Regions from separate parts of the Homo sapiens genome. Here all the other regions are linked to region 3. The links are contacts of gene promoters, found by promoter capture Hi-C in blood cells and fetal thymus (Javierre and others, 2016). All regions are on one chromosome and are shown on one strand. The core of a region is centred on a gene start or on the middle of the fragment in contact, and the rest is flanking DNA. Distances in the headings are between cores, read along the strand shown.

Region 1 (4,089 bases), core at 1,035-3,534, 470 kb after region 3:
CCTGGAAATATACAACCCTCCTAGATTAAACCAGACCAATAACAAGCAGTGAGATTGAAATGGTAATTAAAAAGTTACCAACAAAAAAAGGCCAGGACCAGATAGATTCAGAGCTGAATTCTATCAGACTTTTAAAGGACACTATTCCACAAAATAAAGAGGGAATCCTTCCTAAATTATTCTATGAAGCCAGTCAATCACCCTAATACCCAAACCAGGAAAGGACATAACAACAACAAAAAAACGAAAACTGCAGGCCAGTATTCCTTCTATGCCCAAAATCAGCATAGAAGGGATATACTTCAAGGTAATAAAAGCCATCTATGATAAACCAGAGCCAACATTATAGTGAATGGGGAAAAATTGAAAGCATTCCCCTTGAGAACTGGAACAAGACAAGGATGCCCACTCTTACCACTTCTATTCAACAGAGTACTGGAATTCCTAGCCAGAGCAATCAGACAAGAGAAAGAAAGAGCATCCAAATCTGTAAAGAGGAAGTCAAAGTGTTGCTGTTTGCTGATGATATGATTGTATACCTAGATGAACATGAATGCAAAAATCCTCAGTACAATACTAGCTAACTGAATCCAATGTTGTATCAGAAAGATAATCCACCATGATCAAGTGGGTTTCATACCATGGATGCAGGGATGGTTTAACATACACGAGTCAATAAATGTGATATACCACATAAACAGAATTTAAAACCACATGATCATCTCAATAGACACAGAAAAAGCATTTGACAAAATTGAGCATCCCTTTGATTAAAACCCTCAGCAAAATCGGCATAGAAGGGACATACCTTAAGGTAATAAAAGCCATCTATGATAAATCCAGAGCCAACATTACACTGAATGGGGAAAAGTTGAAAGCATTCCCCCTGAGAACTAGAACAAGACAAGGATGCCCATTTATTCGATGCAGTACTGGAAGTCCTGGCCAGAGCAATCAGACAAGAGAAAGAAATAAAGGGCACCAAATCAGTAAAGAGGAAGTCAAACTGTCACTGTTTGCTGATGGGATTATCATATACCTAGAAAACCCTAAAGACTCATCCAAAAAGCTCCTAGAACTGGTAAATGAATTCAGCAAAGTTTCAAGATACAAAATTAATGTACACAAATCAATAGATCTGCTATACACCAACAGTGACCAAGCTGAGAATCACATCAAGAACTCAACCCCCTTTAACTGCAAAATAAATAAATAAATAAATAAATAAATAAATAAATAAATGAATAAATAAAATACTTAGGAATATACCTAACCAAGGAGGTGGAAGACCTCTACAAGGAAAACTACAAAACACTGCTGAAAGAAATCGTAGATGAAACAAATGGAAACACATCCCATGCTCATGGATGGGTAGAATCAATAGTGTGAAAATGACCATACTGCCAAAAGCAATCTATAAATTAAATGCAATTCCCATCAAAACACCACCAACATTCTTCACAGAACTAGAAAAAACAATCCTAAAATTCATGTGGAATCAAAAAAGAGCCCTCATAGCCAAAGCATGACTAAGCAAAAAGAACAAATCTGGAGGCATCACATTACCCGACTTCAAACTATATGGCCATAGTCACCAAAACAGCATGGTACTGGTATAAAAATAGGCATATAGACCATGGAAAAGATTAGAGAACCCAGATATAAAGCCAAATCCTTACAACCAACTGATCTTTAACAAAGCAAACAATAACATGAAGTGGGGAAAGGACACCTTATTCAACAAATGGTGCTTGGATAATTGGCAAGCCACATGTAGAAGAGTGAAACTGGATCCTCATCTCTCACCTTATACAAAAATCAACTCAAAATGGATGGAAGACTTAAATCTAAGACCTGAAACCCTAAAAATTCTAGAAGATAACACTGGAAAAACCCTTCCACAGACATTGGCTTAGGCAAAGACTTCATGACCAAGAACCCAAAAGCAAATGCAACAAAAACAAAGGTAAATAGATGGGACTTAATTAAACTAAAAAGCTGCACAGCAAAAGAACCAGCAGGGTAAACAGACAACCCACAGAGTGGGAGAAAATCTTCACAATCTATACTTTCGACAAAGGACTAATATCCAGAATCTACAAAGGAACTCAAATCAGCAAGAAAAAAACAATCCCATCAAAAATTGGGCTAAGGAGATGAATAGAGAATTCTCAAAAGAAAATATACAAATGGCCAACAAACATATTAAAAAATACTTAACATCATTATGATCAGGGAAATGCAAATCAAAACCACCTTACTCCTGCAAGAATGTCCATAATCAAAAAATAGATGTTGGCATGGATGTGGCAAAAAGGGAACACTTTTACACTGTTGGTGGGAATATAAACTAGTACATCCACTGTGAAAAACAGTGTGGAAATTCCCCAAAGAACTAAAAGTAGATCTACTGTTTGACCCAGCAATCCCACTGCTTGGTATCCACCCAGAGGAGAAGAAATTTTACAAAAAAGATACTTGCACATGTTTGTAGCAGCCCAATTTGCAATTGCAAAAATATGGAACCAGCCCAAATGCCCATCAATCAATGAGTAAAGAAAATGTGCTACATATATATACACACATATATATGTACACACACACACATATACATATATATGTACACACACACACACACAAACACCATGAAATACTACTCAGCCATAAAAAGGAAGGAAATAATGGCATTTGCAGCAACCTGGATGGAATTGGAGACAATTATTCTAAGTGAAGTAACTCAGGAATGGAAAACCAAACATTGTATGTTCTCATAAGTGGGAACTAAGCTATGAGGACACAAAGGCATAAGAATGATACAATGGACTTTGGGGACTTGGGGAAAAGGATGGTAGTGAAGGATAAAAGACTATCATCAGGTACAGTGTACACTGCTCAGGTGGTAGGTTCACCAACATCTCAGAAATCACCATTAAAGAACTTATTCATATACAAAAAAAATTTTTAAATAAGAGTTCCAAGAGTAGCAAGAGGGCTCACCAATATGTGATCACTTTGTCAGTCTCTGCATGCATCACATTTGTGCTTGTCTTATTGGCCAACACAAGTCACACAAGGCTAAGCTCCAAGTCATTTGCACCTCCTCGTTTCTACCAAAAGCCATGGAAACAAGGAGGTGCGAACAAACTGGGACCAGTCCTACAATAACATATGAACCTAGGTCTAAAATTTTTAATAAAAAATATTAGCAAACCGAATCCAAACTAACATACTATGAACAAGTAGGTTCATTCTAGGTTGCGAAGGTGGTTCGGCATTAAGAAATCTGCACTGTGCTGGCTCAGAATGGGGGCTTCAAAGGGCATTGTCTTTCTGTGATCAGTTGTGCTGATAGAACCTGGAGGCCCAGAGAGATGAAGCATGTTGGCCAAGGCCACACAGTGACTTGGCTGAGGAACTGGGATATGGCCTGGTCTCCACAATTTCTCTGCAGCGCTCCCAGAAAGGGGCCAGTGGCTGGCTGACTCAGCTTCTGACCCCACCACCCTCGTCCATTCGTGATCCTTGAATCCATGCCTTCCCACCCCAGGACCCTGCACGGCATCTCCTCTGTAACTTTCTCCCCAGTGTTGCTCATGTGTTGACTCTTCCAGGCCTACAAGAGGAAGACAGAAGCAGCAAAGAAGGAATATCTGAAGGCCCTGGCAGCCTACCGGGCTAGCCTCGTCTCCAAGGTAACACCCGGAATCTCCAGGCACAGCCCTGATCAGAGTGGGGCCACTTGAGGAATGGAGCAAGAACTGGGGCCCGTGGGAAGGGCCGGCACCCCAGGTCTTAGAAAGAATGGCTCAGACCTACATGGTCATGTCTGCAGGGCACCTACAGCATGCCAGGCTCATTCTGGGCACTTTACATGCATTTCATTGGCTTCTTCCAACAAGAACCCAGCACCCAGAGGGGTTGAGCAACTTGCCTGAAAAGATCCAGTTTGTTAAAGTGGCCGCACTAGGATTCAAACCCAGTTTTGCCAGTTTTATGTGGCCTTCACTTCTGACCGCTGATGGGGCTTGGGACACGCTACCCCAAAATATGGCACCTCCTCACCACACCGTCGGCCTCCTCTGTCAACAC
Region 2 (4,082 bases), core at 702-3,201, 490 kb after region 3:
GGTCTCCCTTCTGCCCCAGCTCCTCTTGCAGGCTTCTGAGGCAAAAGAACTTCTGCCAGGCCAGGCATCCCAACTCCCTCTAAAGAAACCCTCAGCAAGATGCTCATTCGGTCCCTCACATCAGTGCCAGGTGAAGAGAACGTGACCGGGGCTATCCTGAGGCTGCGGGTGGCCAGGGACGTAGGAGGGAGAAGGCAGGAGCTCTCTAGGCCAGACTAGAGTTCCATGCTCAGGCGTGAGGCTGTACAGCCCTATGGTACACCTCAGATCTGGGAGAGGGAATTATCTCACCTGTGAGAGTGTGGACAATACTGTCAATAGCAGCTCAGCCCTGGCCTCATGTCAGTTATCAATTGCTGTGTAATGAAGGATCCCCAAGCTTACGGGTCAAAATGATTATTCATTCTATCTCACAAACCTGTGGGTTGACTAGATGGCTCTCCTGCTCCACGTGGTTGGCTAGGGCGACAGGACACTGGAGCTGGAGCATCAAAGACGGCTTCTCTCCATATCCAGAGCTCAACTGAGATGACTGAAACATCTGGGGTTGACTGGGCGTCTCTCTTCTTTCTCCATCCATGTGGCCTGTCCATGGAGCTAGCTTGGGCTCCCTCATCACATGGTGGTCTTAGGGGCATCAGGCTTTTTTTTTTTTTTTTTTTTGAGATAGGGTCTCACCTTGTCACCCAGGCTAGCATGCAGTGGCATGATCACGACTCACTGCAGCCTCGACCTCCCTGGGTTCAGGTGATCCTCCCACCTCAACCTCCTGAGTAGCTGGGACTACAGGCACACGCCACCATGTCTGGCTAATTTTTCTATTTTTTTTTTTTTTTGTAAAGGATGGGTCTCACTATGTTGTCCAGGCTGGTCTTGAACTCCTGGGTTCAAGTGATTCACCCACCTCAGCCTCACAAAGTGCTGGGATTACACCATGACCAGCTGAATTGGACTTCTTAACATGGTGTGGCAAGCTGAACAGTCTACCCCCAAAATTCATATCTGCCCAGAACCTCAAAATACGACCTAATGTATGGTTGTATATGACCTCATCTTAACTAGTTATATCTGCAGAGATGAGAACAAAGTCTTCACAGATGTTAACTAGTTAAGATGAGGTCATACTGGATTAGGTTAAGCCCTAAATCCAACATCAGATGTCCTTCTAAGGAGGTTGGAAGACAAACAGATACACACAGGGACGAAGGCCATGTGAAGATAGAGGAGGAGACTAGAATTATGCCAACACCAGCCATGAAATGCCAAGGACTGCCAGGAGTCAAGAGACAGGCATGGAATAGATTCTCCCCTCAGAGCCTCCAGAAGGACCCAGCCCTGCCAACACCTTGATTTTGGCCTTCTAGCCTCCAGAACTGAGACAGAATACATTTCTGTTGCCTTAAGCTGCCCAGTTTGTGGTACCTTGTTATGGCAGTGCTGGGAAACTCACTTGCATGGTGGCTGGGGCCTGAAGATGCAGCAGAAGCTAACGGCGTCTTAAAGGCTGATCCCAGAACTGACGGAGCATCACCCCGCCATGCTTCATCCGGCAAGGCAGGGCCTCTCAGCGTAGGCCCCATTGACACTGGAATGGTCTCACTCTGTTTGCGGAGGGCAGAGGAATTGGAGGAGGTTGCTCTGTGTTCCAGGATGTTTAGTGGAATCTCTGGCTTCCACTCATTGTCAGTAGCACCCCCACCAGGCCCAACAACTAAAAGTGTCCCCAGAGATTGCCCAATGTCCCCTGGAGGACAAAGCCATCCTGGATTGAGAACCACTGGGTTAAAGTAAGTAACAGGATCAGCACAGCTCCCAGGGCAGGGGCTGTATAAGCGTGGGAACGGCAGCAGGCTCCCTGAGGGCCACCAATGGGACAGTCTCCCGCTTCAGGATCACTTGGAACTTGCCTTGAGATTTGCAGGACACAACCCACAATCCCCAGATCTTTTTTTTTTTTCTTAGAGACAGAGGTTCACTCTGTTGCTCAGGCTGGAGTGCAGTGGTGCAATCATGGCTCACTGCAGGCTTGAACTCCCAGGCTCAAGGGAGGCCTCAGCCTCCTGAGTAGCTGGGACTACAGGCACATGCCAATGCATGCCCGGCTAATTTTTATTTTTATTTTTGTAGAGATGGGGGTCTTGCAATGTTGCCCAGACTTGTCTCAAACTCCAGGGATCAAGTGATCCTCCTGCCACTCAGAGTGCTGGGATGACAGGTATGAGCCACGTGCCTGGCCCCCCAGAAACCTTGAATCCCTTGTGTTCTACCTTATGAAGTGAGTCCCAGGTGGGGGTCAGAAGCTGGCATCCAGGTCCAGGACCCCATGGAGCGTTACCTGTGACTTTGGATGCTTCTGCACACTTGTTGCCAACTTGAGATGCTGAATTCAAACCACCACAGAGCTGCTCCCCGTACCAGGTGAGAAGTGTGGGAAAATGGTTTGAAGCCACGTGGTTTGCCCTGGGCAGTCTAACGGGCAAGACATGAATGCACATGTGTCTAGGTTGGGCACTGCAAAAAAAGACGCCACATCTAAGGGCAACAGGGCAAACATACTAACTTGCATGAGTGGCAGAGGTAAAGATTCATGGGCTCCCGCCTGAGTCCTGGAGCAGCACAGGAGAGCCCCTGCCCACCTAAACCAGTGCTGGCAGCCCCAGCCATGCCACAGGCTTGGGAGAACACGTTCACCCTGTGCTGCACCCTCCGCTGCCCAACCCCAAACCTACATTGTGGCCTCGGTGTGGCAGGCTGCTGGCGGGAGCACACGCGGCATCTGGGGTAGCTGTGTGTGAAGCACAGAGCGTGGCACCTGTGTGTGCAGCGGAGTTCGCCTGGGAGGAAGCCACATAGCATTTGCCTGATTTCTTGTATGTTGCATACACGCTGGATGCTGATTTAGAAGGGCTGTTTTTGGTTGGTTTGTTTTTAAAGGATACATTTTCACATCTCCATCTCTGTAGCCATGACCCAAAACAAAATGGAACGTTTCCATCACCCCAATAGTTCCCACGTGCCCTTGTTCCTCAGTGATTTCACCCACCTCCCTCCACACCACCTCCCCAGGTAACCACCACCCTAACTGTTATTGCCATAAACTGAGTTTGCCTCCTGTTCTATCGTTTTATATAAATGGACTCATATATGGTTATCTTTTCTGTCTGGCTTTTCTTCAGCACCATTTTACGAGATTCATTCCTGCAGCTGTGTATAGCCATCCCTTGACTTTTTTTTTTTGCAACCAAGTCTTGCTCTGTTGCCCAGGCTGGAGTGCAGTGGTGCGATCCTGGCTCACTGCAACCTCCACCTTCCCAGTGCAAGCCATTCTCCTGCCTCAGCCTCCCGAGTAGCTGGGATTACAGGCTTACACCATCATGCCTGGCAAGTTTTTTTGTATTTTTTAGTAGAGATGGGGTTTCACCATGTTGCCCAGGCTGATCTCTAACTCCTAGGCTCAAGCAATCCACCCGCCTCAGCCTCCCAAATCCCTTGTACTTTTTATTGGTGTGCAATATGATAAAAAGAAGCTTGGTTTATGAAACTGCAGTTCCTAACTGGATGCTACTGTTTAAGGCCCAGTGCCAGAGCCCCTACCCCCTCCTTCTCTCCTTCCCCGAACTCCGTCTTTACACTTTGGCCATGACCACTGTCACCCAATTCACCTAGAGTGAGCGTCCCATTCCGCCTCAGTCAGCCCCCAGGGCCACCTGTGATTGTTCAGGCTGTGCAATGCCATCCTGACTCCAACAATCCCTGGGGGAGAGGTGACGGATATCCTAACTACCCTGCTTCGATTATGATACATGGTATGCATGTACCAAAATATCACATGTACCCCATAAATATTGTATATCAAAGATGGAGAATTACTGTAAAAAACAATGACCGGAGGAAGAGAAGCCTTTTTCCAGTTTACACCCTGGCCGTGTCTGGCTGGCAGCAGATTCTCCACTTCCCACAGCCAGAGCCTTTTAAAAACTGGTTTGGCCCCAATGCCATTGCTGCAGCTGGAACGGGTACAGCTGGCTCATCTAGGATAGAAAGTGCATGGCCAGCTTTGTGTGAAAGGAGAGGAAACTCTC
Region 3 (3,732 bases), core at 379-2,878:
ATCCCCAAGAAGAGAACTTTTTTTTTTTAAGAGACAGAGTCTCACTCTGTTGCCCAGGCTGGGGTGCAGTGGAGCGATCATGGCTCACTGCAGCCCGAACTCCTGGGTTCCAGCGATCTTCCCACCTCAGCCTCCCAAGTAGCTAAGACTACAGGTGTGTGCCACCATGCCTGGCTAATTTTCTTTTTTTATTTATTATTACTATTATTATTGGAGAGAAAAGGTGTTACTGTTACCCAGGTCCCAGACTCCTGGCCTCAAGCAGTCCTCCCACCTTGGCCTCCCAAAATGCTGGGATTACAGGCAGAAGCCACTTCATCTGACCAAAGAGAATTCTCAAATCACCCTGTTCTCCACTTTCTTTTTGAGACAAGGTCTCACTGTGTTGCCTAGGCTAGAGTGCGGCGGCACCATGACGGCTCACTGCAGCCTCAACCTCCTAGGATCAATCAATCAATCCTCCCACCTCAGTCTCCCAAGCAGCTGGGACTACAGGCGCGCGCCACCACGCCCAGGTAATTTTTCCTATTTTTAGTAGATACCGGGTTTCGCCATGTTGCCTAGGCTGGCCTCAAACTCCTGGGCTAAAGAGATCCACCTGCCTCGGCCTCCCAAAGTGCTGGGATTACAGGAGAGAGCCGCTGCGCCCGGCCCGTCTCCACTTTTAAAATTTCCAGTGACAGAAATTGTGGAAAGCAACACGAGTTGTATGTGTTTTAATATCCTAGATTCGAAGACAAACATAAATGTAAATAAAAACTGTCAGAGCTCTCTGCAATCTTCAGTTTGGGTCTTCCAGGCTGCTGCAGCGTTGTTCACAAATCCACACACCTCTAAAGGCAGGCACAGAGCGCTTTCCTGGGTAGTCGGGTGGCCTGTTGGTAGTTGCAGGCTTCTGGTTTCCCATCTTAATGGCGATGGCAGGGCAACCTGTATTGGTGGTGCTTTTGCACAAGCAGTTCTTTCTGCCGGGAACGCCCTTCCCCAGCCTTTGCCTTAATGAATACCACTCTCTCTTCAAATCTCTGCTCAACAGGGGCGCCTTTTTGACCAGCTTAGTCGTTAGACTCCCTAATACAGTTCATAGTTTTCACATTTTTGTAGAATCTATTCAAGTTCTAACTCCCCGCCATGCTCGCCGGCGCTCAAGCCTAGTACCATGGCAAGCAAAGATGCGGAGTTAATAAAACAGAATTATACGGTTTATCATTCTCAACACTAAACCTGCGCACCCTTTTCCGTTAAGTAGTTCCTAATAGTCCAGCACAGCCTTCCGCCCGGCCCCGCCCTCGCCTGGCTCCACTCTGCTCCTGCGCTTTGGGAATCGAAGCTGGGGCGTTCTCCAACCCCCCCGCGCTGGAAGCCTTCACTATTCTCCTCCCTGTGGGTGGAGCGAAGTTTGGGCACTTGGGTCCTACCGTTGTTATTAGTCTTTACTCGTAATTGATACTAAAGAACAAAATTAAATGGGTTTATTTTTGGTGAAAAGTTAATTCTCCTTATGTTTGGATTTGCCCCTCATGCACCAAATGGTACAGCCCCACATCAGTCAGGCTGCCTACCCCTGACGCCTGCGACGGAGAGGCGCCTTCCGTGCTGTCGTCATCACGTCGGCCGGAGCTAGCGCTGCGTCCTGGGCCACGCCTCCCGGCGCACCGACGCGCCTCTCCGGTTACTAAGCGGCCTTGGATACCTGGCCGCGGGATGCTGGGCGGCGTCAGGTGAGCGGTGGTCGCTGGGCCTCAGGTAAAGGGCGCCAACAGTGGTGGGCCGGCTGGGGCGTTGGTGCGGCCTGGGAGCTGGCGAGGGACTCGCCGCACTCTTCGAGGCCGCTGGGCCGGTCATAGAACATCCAGGGTCCCCCGGGGTGAAGTAAACTGTGGGCGCGGACGTAGCCCGGGTTCCTGGCGCCCCGGCTGGGCGCCCATCTCCACGGCCTCGGGTGGTGCAGGTGTTTAGTCGTTCCGCTGACTATGAAAGAGCATGGGACGAGGAATCGTACAGTCTTAATCTCTCTTCTGTCGTGGCTGCGACCCCTCGGTATTCATGTGGGAAAATACTGATTTGACTGGTAATGTTATTGAAGAGAAAGCGAGAGAATGGTTTGGCAGCGTTACCCAAATATTTGTTATTTTTATAGTTTTAAAGGCCTTATACTATTATTAAGGAAATGCATTTCTGGCTAAGTCTGACAGTACAGGAACGCAGACCTGCTACTCTCACCAGGGGCTGAACTAACAGAACAAAAAAAGATAGATGTATCACGGTGGTGGGACCATGGAGGGGGCAGTTTTTCAACTGGACAAAATGATGTTAAAGTGCTTAAAGAAGGATAAATATGTGAAAGTAGCCAGGAAAATTCTAAAATTAATGCTAATAAGGGAGATTAGCTCTCCAGAACCACCAGATATTATAACATAAAGGTATAGCAATTAAACTAGCATAGAAGATGGGTGCAGCAGTGTGGGCCCGTAGTCCTGGCTACTTGGTAGGCTGAGGCGGCAGGATCCCTTGAGCCCAGGAGTCAGAGACCAGCATGGGTATCAAAAGGAAACCCTGTCTCTGAAAATAAATAAATTAATTTAAAAAGTTTGGGACTCAGCAGGAGCTTACAGGTAGATAAAATATATTAGAACTCAGAATAAGAGCGATTTATATATAGGGATTTATTATATAGGCGAGGTGGTACTGTATTTCAAATCAGCATTGAAGAGATGAATTGGGGTCAGGCAGCTTTTTTAGCAATTTAGAAAATAATTAAACCAGTCGAGCGAGGTGGCTCACACCTGTAATCCCAGCACTTTGGGAGGCCAAAGCGGGTGGATCACTTGAGGTCAGGAGTTCCAGACCAGCCTGGCCAACCTGGTGAAACACCGTCTCTACTATGGCGCGCGCCTGTAATCCCAGCTACTGGGGAGGCTGAGGCAGGAGAATTGCTTGAACTTGGGAGGCGGAGGTTGCAGCGAGCCGAGATTGCACCACTGCACTCCAGCCTGGGTGACAGAGCAAGACTATGCTTTGAAAAAGAAGGAAAAAAAAAAGGAATGAAGCCCATTTTGAGCACCACAATAATTTCCAAATGGACTAAAATTTAAATGTTAAAAAATTACATCACGAATTAGCCGGGTGTGTTTGGGCGCCTGTAGTCCCAGCCGCTTGGGAGGCTGAGGCACGAGAATCTCTTGAATCTGGGAGGCAGAGGTTGTGGTGAGCCGAGATCGTGCCACTGCACTCCAGCTTAGGCCACAGAGCAGACTCTCTCAAAAAAAAAAAAAAATTACATCATGAAGTACTGAAGTAAAGCATTGTTGAATTTATTTATAATCTTAGAATGACAAAAAACTCTTCTAAGTGTTTCATGTCATCCAGAAGCCAGGAAGGAAAAGATTCATACTTTTAACTCTATAAAATTTAAAATCTATATGGCCTGCAAAATTCAACCAAACCAAAAAAACTACCAGAAGCCAAATAAACTTATGAAAATGTTTGTTTAATGATCAATTAGAAAATTATGAAACCCGACTGGGTGCAGTGGCTCATGCCAGTAAACCAGCACTTTGGGAGGTTGAGGTAGGAGGATCACTTGAGGTCAGGAGTTCAAGGGCAACATAGCGAGACCTTGCTTCTACAAAAAATTTAAAAATTAGCTGGACACTGGTGCGCGCCTGTAGTCCCAGCTACCCATGAGGTTGAAGTGGGATGATTGCTTGAGCCTGGGAGGTCAAGGCTACA

Evidence for each region. Contacts are between HindIII fragments. The CHiCAGO score rates a contact against its expected background, and 5 or more counts as called.
Region 1: a fragment that was not itself captured here is called in contact with the fragment with the promoter of IFT52 in region 3 in 1 of 17 cell types (neutrophils); the score reaches 5.1 in neutrophils.
Region 2: a contact is called between a fragment that was not itself captured here and the fragment with the promoter of IFT52 in region 3, in 3 of 17 cell types (neutrophils, endothelial precursors and M2 macrophages). The highest score is 8.5, in neutrophils.

What each region holds. Positions count from the first base shown.
Region 1 is chr20:44,061,166-44,065,254 of GRCh38, forward strand. TOX2 (TOX high mobility group box family member 2) reads left to right here. Exons shown (of 9, transcript NM_001098797.2): 6 at 3,612-3,692. Among named protein-coding and RNA genes, the nearest start is that of JPH2, 120 kb to the right of the region's middle. The HindIII fragment of the contact is 7,560 bases long and covers 1-4,089 here.
Region 2 is chr20:44,083,558-44,087,639 of GRCh38, forward strand. No RefSeq gene overlaps it. Among named protein-coding and RNA genes, the nearest start is that of JPH2, 100 kb to the right of the region's middle. The HindIII fragment of the contact is 3,148 bases long and covers 378-3,525 here.
Region 3 is chr20:43,589,309-43,593,040 of GRCh38, forward strand. It overlaps IFT52 (intraflagellar transport 52), which reads left to right and starts at 1,629. Exons shown (of 14, transcript NM_016004.5): 1 at 1,629-1,746. RefSeq lists an enhancer at 1,751-1,820. The HindIII fragment of the contact is 15,646 bases long and covers 1-3,732 here.